3 separate regions of the Homo sapiens genome follow, and regions 1 and 3 are each linked to region 2. The links are contacts of gene promoters, found by promoter capture Hi-C in blood cells and fetal thymus (Javierre and others, 2016). All regions are on one chromosome and are shown on one strand. The core of a region is centred on a gene start or on the middle of the fragment in contact, and the rest is flanking DNA. Distances in the headings are between cores, read along the strand shown. Region 1 has its middle 41 kb from the start of CCDC18-AS1. Region 2 holds the start of BCAR3-AS1 (BCAR3 antisense RNA 1). Region 3 overlaps DNTTIP2 (deoxynucleotidyltransferase terminal interacting protein 2).

Evidence for each region. The method cuts DNA at HindIII sites, captures the fragments that hold promoters and counts their contacts. A CHiCAGO score of 5 or more calls a contact.
Region 1: a contact is called between a fragment that was not itself captured here and the fragment with the promoter of BCAR3-AS1 in region 2, in 2 of 17 cell types (erythroblasts and megakaryocytes). The highest score is 5.0, in erythroblasts.
Region 3: a fragment that was not itself captured here is called in contact with the fragment with the promoter of BCAR3-AS1 in region 2 in 2 of 17 cell types (M1 macrophages and monocytes); the score reaches 6.0 in M1 macrophages.

The regions. Positions count from the first base shown.
Region 1 is chr1:93,302,551-93,307,045 of GRCh38, forward strand. No RefSeq gene overlaps it. Among named protein-coding and RNA genes, the nearest start is that of CCDC18-AS1, 41 kb to the right of the region's middle. The HindIII fragment of the contact is 2,968 bases long and covers 1,465-4,432 here.
Region 2 is chr1:93,590,093-93,594,740 of GRCh38, forward strand. It overlaps BCAR3-AS1 (BCAR3 antisense RNA 1), which reads left to right and starts at 1,876. Exons shown (of 4, transcript NR_034091.1): 1 at 1,876-2,416; 2 at 4,281-4,357. BCAR3 (BCAR3 adaptor protein, NSP family member) reads right to left here. Exons shown (of 12, transcript NM_003567.4): 4 at 2,173-2,301. RefSeq lists enhancers at 2,072-2,572, 2,079-2,238. The HindIII fragment of the contact is 15,312 bases long and covers 1-4,648 here.
Region 3 is chr1:93,871,716-93,876,076 of GRCh38, forward strand. DNTTIP2 (deoxynucleotidyltransferase terminal interacting protein 2) reads right to left here. Exons shown (of 7, transcript NM_014597.5): 3 at 3,930-4,068; 4 at 1,404-1,499; 5 at 357-521. Among named protein-coding and RNA genes, the nearest start is that of DNTTIP2, 5.3 kb to the right of the region's middle. The HindIII fragment of the contact is 7,821 bases long and covers 1-4,361 here.

The DNA.
Region 1 (4,495 bases), core at 1,699-4,198, 290 kb before region 2:
TGCCAATCTTAACCTTGAATTCCAAATTTGTATTTGTACAAATACAAATGATCTTATATTCCTGTTCTTAGTTAATGGTGTCATCATCCACCCATTTTCCCAAGCCGGAGATCTCAGAGTTATTCTTAATTCCTCCCCCTCTCACTCCTTTCATATTCAGTTACTAATCTTGAAATTCTCTTTCAGAAATATCTTTGGTCTAACCCATCTTTTCCATCCTATGTGCCAATGCTCTAGGTTAGGTTTGCATCCTCTCTCCCTTGGACTAACAAAACAGCCAGCTAACTTTTTACTTGCCCGGATCTAGTCCATTCTTTACAGTACCAGAAGTGCAACAGTGAAAGGATCTTGTCAATACCACAGCTTGCTTTTGGCTATTGAATAATGCCTTAGGCTAGCAAACAACTCACAACATGGTTAGTTATCTCATGATCAGTTTGGATTATTGTCGCTATATCAAACATACTACTCTTTCCTGATCACTAAAAACAATGTAAAAAAAGAAGAAAAGAGACTTTATCTTAGGAATGTAAGCCCTTTTAAATTATCAGGCCCAAACAGGCATTAGAATGAAACAGCAGTTACTTCACTTCACTTCCCCTTGGGCTAAATAATTGTCTTTTTTTTTCTTTTATATTTTCTTTTCTTTTCTTTTCTTTTCTTTTTTTTTTGAGATAGTGTCTCATTCTGTCACGCAGGCTGGAGTACAGTGGTGTGATCTCGGCTCACTGCAACCTCCGCCTCCCGGGTTCAAGAGATTCTTATGCCTCACCCTCTCGAGTAGCTGGGACTACAGGTGCATGCCACCACACCTGGCTAATTTTTATATTTTTAGTAGAGGCAGAGTTTTGCCATATTGGCCAGGCCAGTCTCAAACTCCTGGCCTCAAGTGATCCATCTGCTTGGCCTCCCAAAGTGCTGGGATTATAGGTGTGAGCCACTGCACTTGGCCAAATAATTGTCTCTTGATGCCACCTGCTACGTGGGCCCGAGGCTGACACCAAGAAGCCATGAAATGCTACAGCTGGACACCAGAACTCATATCGTATCGTTCAACAATGTACAGTCAAACACTTAATGTTATCTCTGTAAACCAATGAGAATTCCTGTCAAACAACTTTTTTTTAAATTATTATTTTTTGAGACAGGGTCTCTGTCACCCAGGCTGGAGTGCAGTGGCACAATCTGAGCTCACTGCAGCCTCAACCTCCTGGGTTCAAGCAATTCTCCCACCTCAGCCTCCTGAGTAGCTGGGGATACAGGTGCCCACCACCATGCCTGGCTTATTTTTTTATTTTTTGTACAGACAGGGTCTCACTGTGTTTCCCAGGCTGGTCTCAAAGTCCTCCACCTCGTCCTCCCAAAGTGCTGGGACTACAGGCATGAGCCAGCACACCTGGCCTGTCAAACAACTTTCTATCAGCCCACTCCTGATAATTTTTAATTATCTTTTTTTCCTTTGAAAGCTTGCTTGTAACTGAGGCTGACGGAGCTCATATCCAAGGTAACTGGGTCTGAGTCTTTAGAACAACTGTCCTTATCTTGGCTCAAGTAAACTTTTTTTTTTTGTCCTGAGATGGGGTCTTGCTATGTTGCCCAGGCTGGCCTTGAACTTCTGGGTTCAAGCAATCCTCTGCCTCAGCCTCCTGAGTAGCTGTGCCCAGCTTAAGTAAACTCTTTAAATCATATTTTGTGCCTTAGCATCTACCTTTAGGTCGACAATGGTAAAGAATAAAAGCGAAGATTTTTAACACTGGATTAAGTAGGAAATTCACAAAACATAATATCAAGCTCTGCAAAGAGCTATCTTAGCATAAATAAAAGGATGGTCTTTACGTATAAACTGTAAGAAAAGGACTCCTAGTTGAATAATATTTTTCCAAGTACATTCATTAATATGTAAATATCAATTAATAGCATCATATAGATTCATTTGCAGAGTTAAATTCCCATGTGGAAATTCTGTAGAGTTGAATGAAGACAATGACAAATGGGTAGAAAAAACTTCCCTTGAATGGACTTCTTGCTATTCTCTCGCTGCCATTTCATTTTGTCAACGATGTAGCTCATTTTCAATAATTAAAGTATGTTACACCCAAATAATCTATCTTCCCCTATTTCTACACTTCTAACTTAGCTTTGCTGCCAAAGCACACTGAAAAAAAGCCGTATGTCAGGACATATAACTTGAGTATTGGGATTTTTGTTCTAAAGGTCTTTTCCTCAAAATGCAATTAGGATCCACATGCAGGAAATCTAAACAGCCACTAGAGGGTGCCAGTCACATAATGACTGAGTAATACCTCCTTCCCCTTTGAGCTATTTCTAAATCTGAAAAGCCAACTGTTCTTGGTAAAGCCTTAGTAAATATGTTTATATTATTTCTCACTTGTGATTTGTAGTGATGTATAAACATGAGACCAGAGATAGCTATGGCCACAATTATTTCACCCTGACGTAAAAATGACTTCTGTGGTCTTCATTACAGGACAAAATGACCAGTCTTTCCTGCCCCTCTGTCATTTTTTTTCTCAGTTGCATAGTTTATCCCATTCTTTTATTGCTCAACTGAATGTCTGTAGGTATACTGACTGACTTTAAAGTGGTCAGATTTATCTTTCCTCCCTTTCTCTGTTTCTGTTTTTCAACCTTTGTTCTTTTTCCCTTATATATTCCCCAGCATTTTTTCTTCTTTATATTCCTTTCTTCAAACATTTTATTCCCAAAAGCAATGTTACAAGAAATAAGAAGGCCATGCTATACAGAACTCTAGGAGTAAGAAAAGCCTAACTTAGGAATTAGATGGAGATAGAATCTGCCTACTTAGTATAACACACCTTTGGGGCTGGTCTTCCACAGCAGGCCCTGAATGAACGTAGACTTCATCAGCAGGACAGAAATGAAATCTCTCAGAGCCCTCCTAGAGGAGGAAAGGGATAAACATGGGTGATTCTAAGGTATCTGGGAATGTAGTTCACTATAATGCACAGTGTTAGGCAAAAGGACAAAAATCTATTACTACTATAGAGAAAAGGTCAAAAGAGCCTATAAACTCAAACAAATATAAAAATTGCCATGCTAGTGAGACCCAAAATCATTTAGGTTTTTATTCTTGAAACAATGTTACAAAGAAAGTTTTGTGGAAATGTTTGGTTGCATATTGTGACTCCCTTAAAATGTCCCTAAAGCATCTGTTTGTCTTTATAATCAATCCACTTTGGCTTTTCATCCCTGAAGTATTTAAATTCTTTTGGAGACTTTTCTATTTCAGCCTGTAAATCCTTTGGAGATTAGAAGCTCCATGTGATTATAGTCATTTATTTATTCAAAAAAGCATTACTGGCCCATGTGGTGGCTCACACCTGTAATCCTAATACATTGGGAGATACACGAGGATTGCTTGAGCCCAGGAGTTTGATACCAGCCTGGGCAACATAGTGAGACCCCGTCTCTACAAAAAATAAAATTAGCTGGGTATGGTAGCACATGCCTATAGTCCCAGCTACTTGAGAGGCTGGGGTGGATCACTTAAGCCCAGGAGGTTGAAGCTGCAGTAAACTGTGATCACACCACTGTACTCCTGCCTGGGTGACAGAGCAAGACCCTGTTTCAAAAACAAACAAAAAACCGAAAAAGCATTATTGTGCACTTAATTTTGTGCCAGGCACTATTTAATGCATGTCCTGAGAATATTAAGATGAAAAGACAGCATCTCCTTACTCTTGAAAAAATCAGCCTAATGAGAAAGGTGCTCTTGTAAATAAAGTGTAAAGAGGTCATCTTGTCTTAAATTACCTTTTGCAAGTATGCCTCCTTCCTCGAGTATTCTGGAATTTATTGAGTAAATTCAAGTAGATGCTAAAACATTTATAAACCAAGATATTCTACAAATATGTTATTCTTGTATTAAGATGTAAGTTTTAAGTGTGTATCATTGTTCTTTCTTTTCTGATTCTGACTTTCAGTCATTCTTCAAAACTGTTTTTCAGTGCCTCCTATGTGCCAGGCACTGTGGTAGGATGCTGGGATACAAATATGAATATGACATTATCTCTGACTCTCCAAGTTATTTATTTCACATCTCCTCTCTCCTCAAACCTCCAACACTTCATCTTTCCTCACTCTCAACTGGTGATCTCAATTTACACTTCACTGAAAGAACAGAAGCCTCAGGCAGTAATTATATCTTCCCACCATCGAATCTACCAACCTACCTGAATCTGAATACATGTTCTCCCTCCTTTCACAATGAGGTTGTCCTTTCCAGGGCTCTGGATCCCATGCCCTCCTGCCTATTTGAGGATTTCACTCCTGCCATTATGTGTCCTCTTTTCTGCATCATGCCTTAGTATTGTCTTGCTTGACTAAACTCTCTCTAGACTCTCCATCCTTGCTGGCTTCTGCCCTCTATCTCAGCATGCCTTCACAGTAAAGCTTATCAAGAGTTGCCTATACTTGCTCTCTCTACTTTCTAACTTCTCTTTCTCTGTTCAAC
Region 2 (4,648 bases), core at 626-3,125:
ACCAATTACTGGCTAGAAGGCCTAGAACAAAGTCAGGCTGGGGTCCCTCATCTTACAGTTACTATCAGGGTTATGTATTTGTATACATAACATATGTAAGCACTGGAACACAGTGGATGCTCAAAAATAGTTAACAAGCATGATGCTGCTGCTTACAGCAACTGGAGAATTTATAATGTGGTGCAGCCTGGCTGTTCCTGTAGCCTGACCACCTGGGTTTGCATCCTGGCTCAGCTGTATGACTCTGGACAAATTACATAATCTCCTTGTGGCTCACTTATATCATCTGAAAAACACAAATGATAATATTACCTATAGAATGGCTACAAAGATTTAAGGGGCTAAAATGTTAGCAATAACTCGTTATTACGGTTATGGTTATAGTGTTCAGTTATCCAGTTTGGAACGATTTATCACTGAAAATTAATACTCATGCAAGTAGTAAACGAATGTAATGACCATGATAAGGAGACGGACGGTGGTGATAGTATCGGTTTTATAATTCTGACAATTTTTCTGGAACATTCCAACATTTGATCAACAGTATACTTCTGTTAGGTCAAAATAGTAGGCTACCATGGTTACTTTAAAATTGCATCTTTGCCTTAAAAATGTTTTCACATAGAAATGCCACTTCTTAGAATTGAGCCTGTGAAAATAATTGTAGGTATGAACACAGCAATCTTAAAGGATATTGGTCAGAGTATTAGAAACACCCTATGTGTCCAGTAAATTGTAGTGCATGCATACCGTGGACAGACATACAATGTAGGCTGGTGCAGAAGAATATTCTACAGTGGGTGAAAATTCCCAGGACATAGTAAGTGAGTAGAATGGGCTACCAAAAAAGTATATGTAGTACAATCTCATACTTGATTTCAAAAAGCCCGGGAGGATGTATGTACACAAAAGTATTCATCGTGGTTATCCCCAGGAGAATTATGAGGAGAATTATGGATAAGAGTTTAATTTCCTTCTTTTTGCTATCTATGTTTTCTACAATCAATTTTAAACTTAAAAAAACAAAGTCAGAATAATAATTATTTATTTGATTGTGCCAAGAAATCTACTACATTAAAAAAAAAAAAAAAAAAAAAAAAGCCTGGGCACAGTGACTCATGCCTGTAATCCCAGCACTTTGGGAGGCTGAGGTGGGTGGATCACTTGAGGGCAGGAGTTCGAGACCAGCCTGGCCAACATGGTGAAACCCCGTCTCTACTAAAAATATAAAAGTTAGCAGGGCATGGTGGTGGACACCTGTAATCCCAGCTACCAGAGAGGCTGAGGCAGGAGAATCGCTTGAACCCAGGAGGTAGAGGTTGCAGTGAGCTGAGATTGTGCTATTGCACTCCAGCCTGGGTGATAGAGTAAGACTCTGTCTCAAAAAAAAGAAAAAAAACTTACGACATGATGCCCTTCCCCCCAGCCCCTGTCCACACACTTCCTGTCATGTTGTCCTTGGTTAATGATTGGCCAGATCAGGTTTACAATAAAAACCCAAGGGAAATTCTATGCCTCAATTCTGCAGACTTACTCTATTTTTCAATTTTTACAGTATTAAATGAAAAAACATTATTTATGGCAATCACCCAAATGACGATCACAAAGTATATTCTGGGCCATGAGTCTGTGGTCATGGGTTTAATTCCCCTTTTTTCCCACCTCTGGGTCACAGGATCCAGTAGGGAAGTGATGGAGAGTGTGAATAACTGCCAGCTCAATGGGGCAGAGGCAGCCTTGTTGATCTGGGCCACCTGCCCTCTCTCCTCCCGAAGCTAAGCCACTGCCTTGAGAAGGAGGGGCTGCAAATGGTCTGAGGCTGCTGGCAGCTGGCCAAGAGTTCAATTACCTGGGCCACAGCCCGCCCTCCTAGTTCTTCCGGTTACTGACTCTGTGGCTGCTGCCTCCCACAACGCTGTGCTTGCAGACCCCAGGAGCGCTGGCTGTCCCTTCACTTCCTGAACATGTGGATGTGTGCTTTGGGTTCTTGACCTCAGCTCTTCCCAAGGTCTTCTTAGAGAAGGGTCTAAATGAAGTCATTTTTAGAGTATTTGTTTTTGGTTACACAGGTGCTTCCGCCCATGTGGCCTCGGAGTGGGACCCTGCGGGTCATCAATCTGTACATTGCCTGAGAGCAGCCGTGTATGCTCTGGAAGGGACAAGACCAGGTACCTGTCGGGGGATGCGGCCGTGGTACCAGGCATGGCTGCGCAGGTCCTCGCTGCTCAGGAGCAGCTCCTCCTCCAGCTCCTTCTTCAGTTTCTCGGGGGTCCTGTCCATGATGTGCCTCTCCTTGGAGAACTGCAACACAGAGTCAACCATGAGCTCACCCTGCCCAGGCCACACCAGGCCATGCCAGCTGGAGGTGACCGCCTGCTTCACTAATCCAACCAGTTATGCTACAGCCTGCATTCAGGTAGGGGAGCCTGGATAATGATTACAAAGAGCTGTGACCTTTCGTTTCTCCGGCCGCAACCATGTAATAAAATTTTCACCTGCACATGGGGACTATGGTAGGAGAGTCCACCAAGAGGTTCCTTTTACCAGTCTACTCAAGCAGCTGGGCAGGAAGGGCCAGAGAGATGTACAGACAGCAAGACACAGCAGCCCAGCCTGCTCTCTTCCCAGCGGAGAGCTTCCTCATTCTCCTTCAGGACTGTCCTGACATAGCGTGGGGAGGGCAGCTGTTCCCTTCTGGCCTTAGATCCTGGGCCTCTGGGCAGTGAGGCCCAAAGCACAGTCCTTGGGCTGGTAGCGATGGCCCTAACTTCTTTGCTGTTGGTAAACTCATGTTCAGGAATTGAGTCAGTCTTTAGAAACTTTTAGGGCAAATGGACAGAGCAATTTTATGTCTCTTGAATCTAATAACAGAAGTCTGTCTTTATTTCACATTTCTAATATTTCATTTTTATGACAGATAGGAAAGTGAAACAAATTTAAAAAGACAACCCTGGTCCTTCACCTCAGATGTTTGAGAATCAGTGGTCTGCGGCGTTGCACAGTGGCCATGGCAGTGAGTGCTGGGTGGACAGCGGTGGCTCCAGGTTTAATTTAGAACCATGCCTGCTTACAACATGTGAACTGAACCTGGAAACCTGCCCAGTTCCCAGCAAGACCAGGCATGCTGACCAGGAACCGCTTGCTGAAAGTCCCATGAACAGAAAAAGGCTGTGTCCCTGTGGTTCTCCCAAGTTTCCCAGCTTGTCCTTCAAACCCCCATGGGAGCCACAAAATTATTACTTATCACACTACTTTTTAAAAATGTTTATTTATTTTATTTTTTTTGAGACAGGGTCTCACTGTGCTAGAGCACAGTGGTGCAATCTCAGCTCACTGTAGCCTTGGCCTCCTGGGCTCAAGCAACCTCCTGGGCTCAAGCGATCCTCCCATCTCAGCCTCCCTGGTAGCTAGGACTACAACAGGCACGTGCCACCATGCCTGGCTAATTTTTGTAATTTTTTTTTTAGAGATAGGGTTTTGCCATGTTGCCCAGGCTGGTCTCAAACTCCTGGGCTCAAGCGATCCACCCACCTTGGCCTCTCAAAGTGCTGGGATTACAGGCGTGAGCCACCATGCCCGGCCTATTACACTACTTTGCACGTCAGCAAAGAAATAGCTCCAAATCCTTTTCCACCAAACAACAACAACAACAACAACAACAACAAAGCCCTGGAATTTTAGGGCTAGATTCTCATCCTCTAGTGCTTCTTTGCACATTGGCCCATAAGGAGCGCTAGCTGAAGAGTAACTCAGGGGCTGATTTTTAGATGGGGCTCTGGCTTACTATTTGTTTACTTCTCCCTCCTTCTCACTGGGCAGACACTCACTTGGGAGTGTCTGAAGGATGGAATTTGCATCAAAGAGATGCGGACGCTGGCTGTCCAGGGTGCCTGCAGGCTTTAGACGGTGATGTTTGACACCGTCCGCTCCCATCATTAATATTGTACGGCTTCATCTGAAGACAGCTTGAGTGTGGAATGCAGTTTGTCAACTCGGCCACGCTTTATTGTTCGTTTATTGTCTGACTTGCCTCCCACTAGACTGTAAGTTTCATGAAAACAGAAATCCATCTACTTTTTCCCCACTGCCCTTGAGCAATGCCTGAAAACATCAGGCACTGGGTATTCAGTAAACAAATACCCTAGGATGAGAAAAGATGCTGACTTTGCTTAGTTATGGAGATTCTCCCTTTCGCCCTCAAGTCATCTGAAGCCCTGTTTTCGCTGGGCATGCTGCCATTCAGCCAAAAGACCACATTCCTCAATCTCTGTCTCTTCCAGGGAGATGTGGCCACAGGACTCAGTTCTGACCAAGGAGCTGAGATGTGATGGCTGGAGACTCAACACCATTCTGGACGGTGAGTGGGGAGCCACACCAAGGAATTGGCTGGGTGGAAGGTCTGATTGAGGCTGGGTCCCTGATGACTGTGGGGCCAACACACCAGCCCTGGACCGCCAGCCTCCAGGTCTTCTAGGTGATCTACCTTATGGAAGCCTGTGATTTGTGGGTGTTCCCGTCACTGGCAGCTGAACTAAATCCTAACCCATATTGTGACCTGACCCCCATTGAGTCACCCTGACAGGCAGTCTGCAGGCTTAGCCTAAATCCCTTGTGCTGCACCCTGGGCCCACTTCTTGGTCTGACCTCT
Region 3 (4,361 bases), core at 1,839-4,338, 280 kb after region 2:
ATTTTAAAAACCAACTTGGATTAGTACACGTGATACCCTTTTACCCCTATCCCGTATGGACTCTTGCTGTTAGGCTGATACTATTCATACATTCACATAGTGAACTTTATAGGTTCAACAGGTTTTAGCTGACCTGGAAACCATTTGTAACACCATCTCTCTAAATGTGATCAAATTAAAAGTTAGTGGCTGAATTGGGTAATGGCCATTCTTATATGGCCTATGCAGATATGTTCCATACATTAGGCATGCACAATGGAAATATCCTCTATTTTAGGAGTAAACTTTAAAGAACACTACAGTGCTTTCCAAACTAAAATTCACAGATCATCACCACTATTCTGTTTGCTTCATACCTGGAAGTACTTGGGGAAGCCATCTCTATCATTTTTCTTGTAAAATCTTTTCGGGTCCATGCTGGCTCTCATCTTCAGTGCTTTGAGATCATTTTTCAGTTCATTTGTCATTTCTGGAGCTTTCATACCAAACCAGCCATCCCCTGCTGTTTTTTGTCGTTCTTTCTGAAATTATGATTTCAAAAATAAACATTCTAACAGCTAAGAGTATACATTATAATTCATTTCCCCTGAAGTAACACATACAGAAAATTTTGTAAATTAAAAACAAATGGTTACTTTATTGAAAGCACTTAAATCCAGAATCATAGAGATAAAAGGAATTAAATCACAAAAAGTGACTTCTCCGCTAAATTAGGGACAGGATTATCAGTTTCATAAATGAGGGCTCCGTAAAATCTATTTTCTGTCTCAGAGAGTAACTGCTGACTTGCTGGGAGAATAACACACAACTTCAATTTTTATTGTCTAAAACAGACTATATGCAGTAAGAAAATGTATAAAAACACTTTCGTTTCTAGAGCTTATATGTAAACATTTTTATTCAGTCACCCAGGAGTCTCAGAATGCCACTCATACAAGGATCCAGAACCTTGTGTTATTTCTACAATAAAACAAAATACTATTCTTTAGAAAACTCCTACAAGTTATTTAATTTTGTTTCATTCATACAACAAGTATTTAGTTAGTGCCTACCATGTGCCAGGGTGCTCCATATTACAGTAACATTACTAGAATACCATCCTCAACTTTCCTTCAAGCTCTCTGGATAACTAGTCGAAATGGCAGATAGAAGTAATCTATATATATATATATTTTTTTAAAAAACCTCTACTTATAGATGCACTATTGTGGCTGCAAAGATGTGAAAATCTATACATAATGTGTTTATGGTACTATATTTTACAGCCCTTAGAAATCTGTAATTATTTTCTTTGGACTCATATATAGACCAACAGATACAGTTTAATTGTGCAGTTATGTTGTATAAGCTGAAAATATATAGCCAAACATATCTAAGCATTTTAATTAAGTCACTGTACTTACTCTGCGTTTTTTCTGAAGTTGATACTTTGATTCACTATATGGTGGAACACAGTGGTTTTTTTCAAAATCAGGTGTAATGACGGCTTTCTGCAGAAGCTATAAAAACATAAAATTGGTTTTAAAATAATGTCAGAATGTTATATAAGTTTTTCAACAGTTTAAACTTCTGTAAGTTTTAAAATTTTTAGTCAGCCTGGCAAAGTGGCTCACACCTATAATCCTAGTGCTTTGAGGAGGCCAAGGGAGGAGGATCACTTGAGGCCAGGAGTTTTAGACCACCTTGGTCAACATAGCAAGACCCTGACTGTAAAAAAAAAAAAAAAAAGAAAAGAAATTAGTTGGGCATGGTGGCACACACCTGTAGTCCCAGCTACTCAGGACGCTAAGGCAGAAGGATCACTTGAGGCCAGGAGCTTGAGGCTGCAGCAAGCTATGACTGTGCCACTCACTCCAGCCTGGGTGACAGAGTGAGACCCTGTCTCCCCCCAAACCCAGCTCCCTCCCAAAAAAAAAAAGAAAAAAGAAAAAAAAGGCCAGGCACGATGGCTCATGCCTATAATCCCAACTCTTTAGGAGGCCAAGGCAGGACAATCACTTGAGGCCAGGAGTTCAAGACTAGCCTGGGTAACATAAGAAAACGCCATTTCTCCAAAATAAATAAATAAATTTGTGCAGTCAAATCTGTTTATCTTTTCCTAAATGATTTCTGTACTTTTGTTACTTGACTAGGATGATTATATTCTCCTAAAACTCTGTGTGACTAAAGGAACCTCAGGTTAATTAGTATTTTTCTCAGTACAAGAACCAAGTAAGACTGCTCTGTAGCCCTCAAAATAGTTTACAGGAATATAGTACAAGCATTAATTTGGGACTGACATTTGAAATGATCAACTCAGAAATTAACAGTCAGGCACACAATTCAGGTTCAGGCCTAGATGTTTCTGTGTGGTATAGGTAGCCGTCTAGGCTTTCCTATCACTCATAAAAGGGGGCATGATATTTACTTAACAAATGATTAAGAGTTTGCTGTGAGTCAAGTACTGTAGTACATTCAAGGACAGTGGTTCTCAACTGGGAGCATCTGGCAATGTCTGGAGACATTTTTGGTGGTGGTGAGGATAAGGAAGAATGCTACTGACATCTAGTGGGCAAAAGATAGGGATGCTGTTAAACATCCTACTATGCACGGAACATCTCACAACAAAATTATGCAGCCCAAAACATCAGTAGTGCTGAGACTGAAAAACCCTGTTTTAGGAATATAAAGAAAAGATGGTAAGTTAATATATCACATGATCAACAATGAATCAGATCTATGCTAGATGTTATGGAAACAGAGGGGTTGTGAGAAGGACTGGAGGTAAAATATTCCCCAAGGGCAACGATCAATTATTTTGCACTTGCTTGGGGAAAAGCAGGGTAAGTTCAGGCAACTACAGTAGTCTTCAGTGGCAAGAATAGAGCAGATGACAGCTGGGTGGGGTAGAGAGGTACTTTGAAGGATTCAAGAGAATACTGTCACATCTGTGTGTGTGGTGTGTTTTTTGGGGCAGGGAGGAGAGATGTGGTCTAGCTATGTTGCCCAGGTTGGTCTCAAACTCCTGGGCTTAAACAATTCTCCTGCCTCAGCCTCCCAAAGTGCTGGGATTATAGATGTGAGCTACCTTGCCCAGCCGGATTTGTGTTTTTAGACAGAGAAATCTAGAAGTGTGGAGGATGGCTTGAAGAACAAGATGAAAACAAGATCAATAAGGAAGCCACTGGAGTAGTCCAGATGAGAAGCAAAGGCCTGCACTAGCTGGTGACAGTCGCTTGAAAAGGAGGAAGCAGAGAAATATCTTCCCCTAGAGGCTTGGTGACTGACTACAAAAGGAAAAGAGAGTTTGGTTTCATTAGCCAGAAAAAAGAATACAAGAAGAGGATTCCTGGTTCAGGCAGGGAAAGGGGAATTAGTGACGTCAAGTACCTGAGGACATCTAAATGAACAAATAGGTACTTGGATTTAAAGGTCTGAAAGTGACAGTGAGAAGCATCAAGGCTAGAAAATATAGATTTAGGAGAAAACAGTGCAAGGTGTTGGCTAAAGCTAAGGGTTTGGGTAAAGTTACCTTAACAGTAATTCCTTCTGAAATTATATGTAAAATGTCTATATGCACATGTGCATTTTTTTCCGGGTGGAAGAGGCAGGCAGGCATTCACAGCTTTCAGATTCTCAACAGTCTACACTAGTTAAGAACTTAAGAACTAAAAGTATAGCAAGAAAAGGGAAAAAAACAAAACCCCTGGGATCATAATTGGTGGGTGTAAGATGAGGAACACTGACCCTGTATTGATTTATTTTTAAAGCATTATCATTCATAGATAGGATTTTATTGTAAAAAGAAATGACTGTTTTAGAGAGAAGGAAAAAACTAACACATTAGGCCAATGTGGTTTCACTGTAGGAAAATTAAGTCTTTTACCAAGGACTAATTTCTAAAAGTGATTGGTTAGTTCTGTGAAAACCTAACAGCACAATTAACTTACCTCATTTTTCTTTTTCTCCTTGATCTGTGTTAGGGTTCTCTTGTTAGACTGTAGTTTATCTGCATTAAAATTAATATACAAACCACCCAACTGCTTGATACTCAGACCAGGGTCTATGCTGCTGCTTGTCAACTTCAGACTGAAAAAGAAATCATCACTTAAAGATCAAGTAATTAAATCAAAATGGAAACATATAAGATGGCATTTTAAAAAATCACTTATTCTTCTCTTCCCTTGTATTGTCCACAATAAAGAAAAAAAAGCATCTTATTTTTATGAGGAATTCCTGAAAAAAAACTCTAAATAAATATATTTTTCATCATTTTATTTTATTTTTTGAGACAGGGTCTCACTGTTGGCCCAGGATGGAGTGCAGTAGTGACCACTGCAGCCTTGAACTCTTGGGACTCAAGTGATCCTCCTACCTCAACC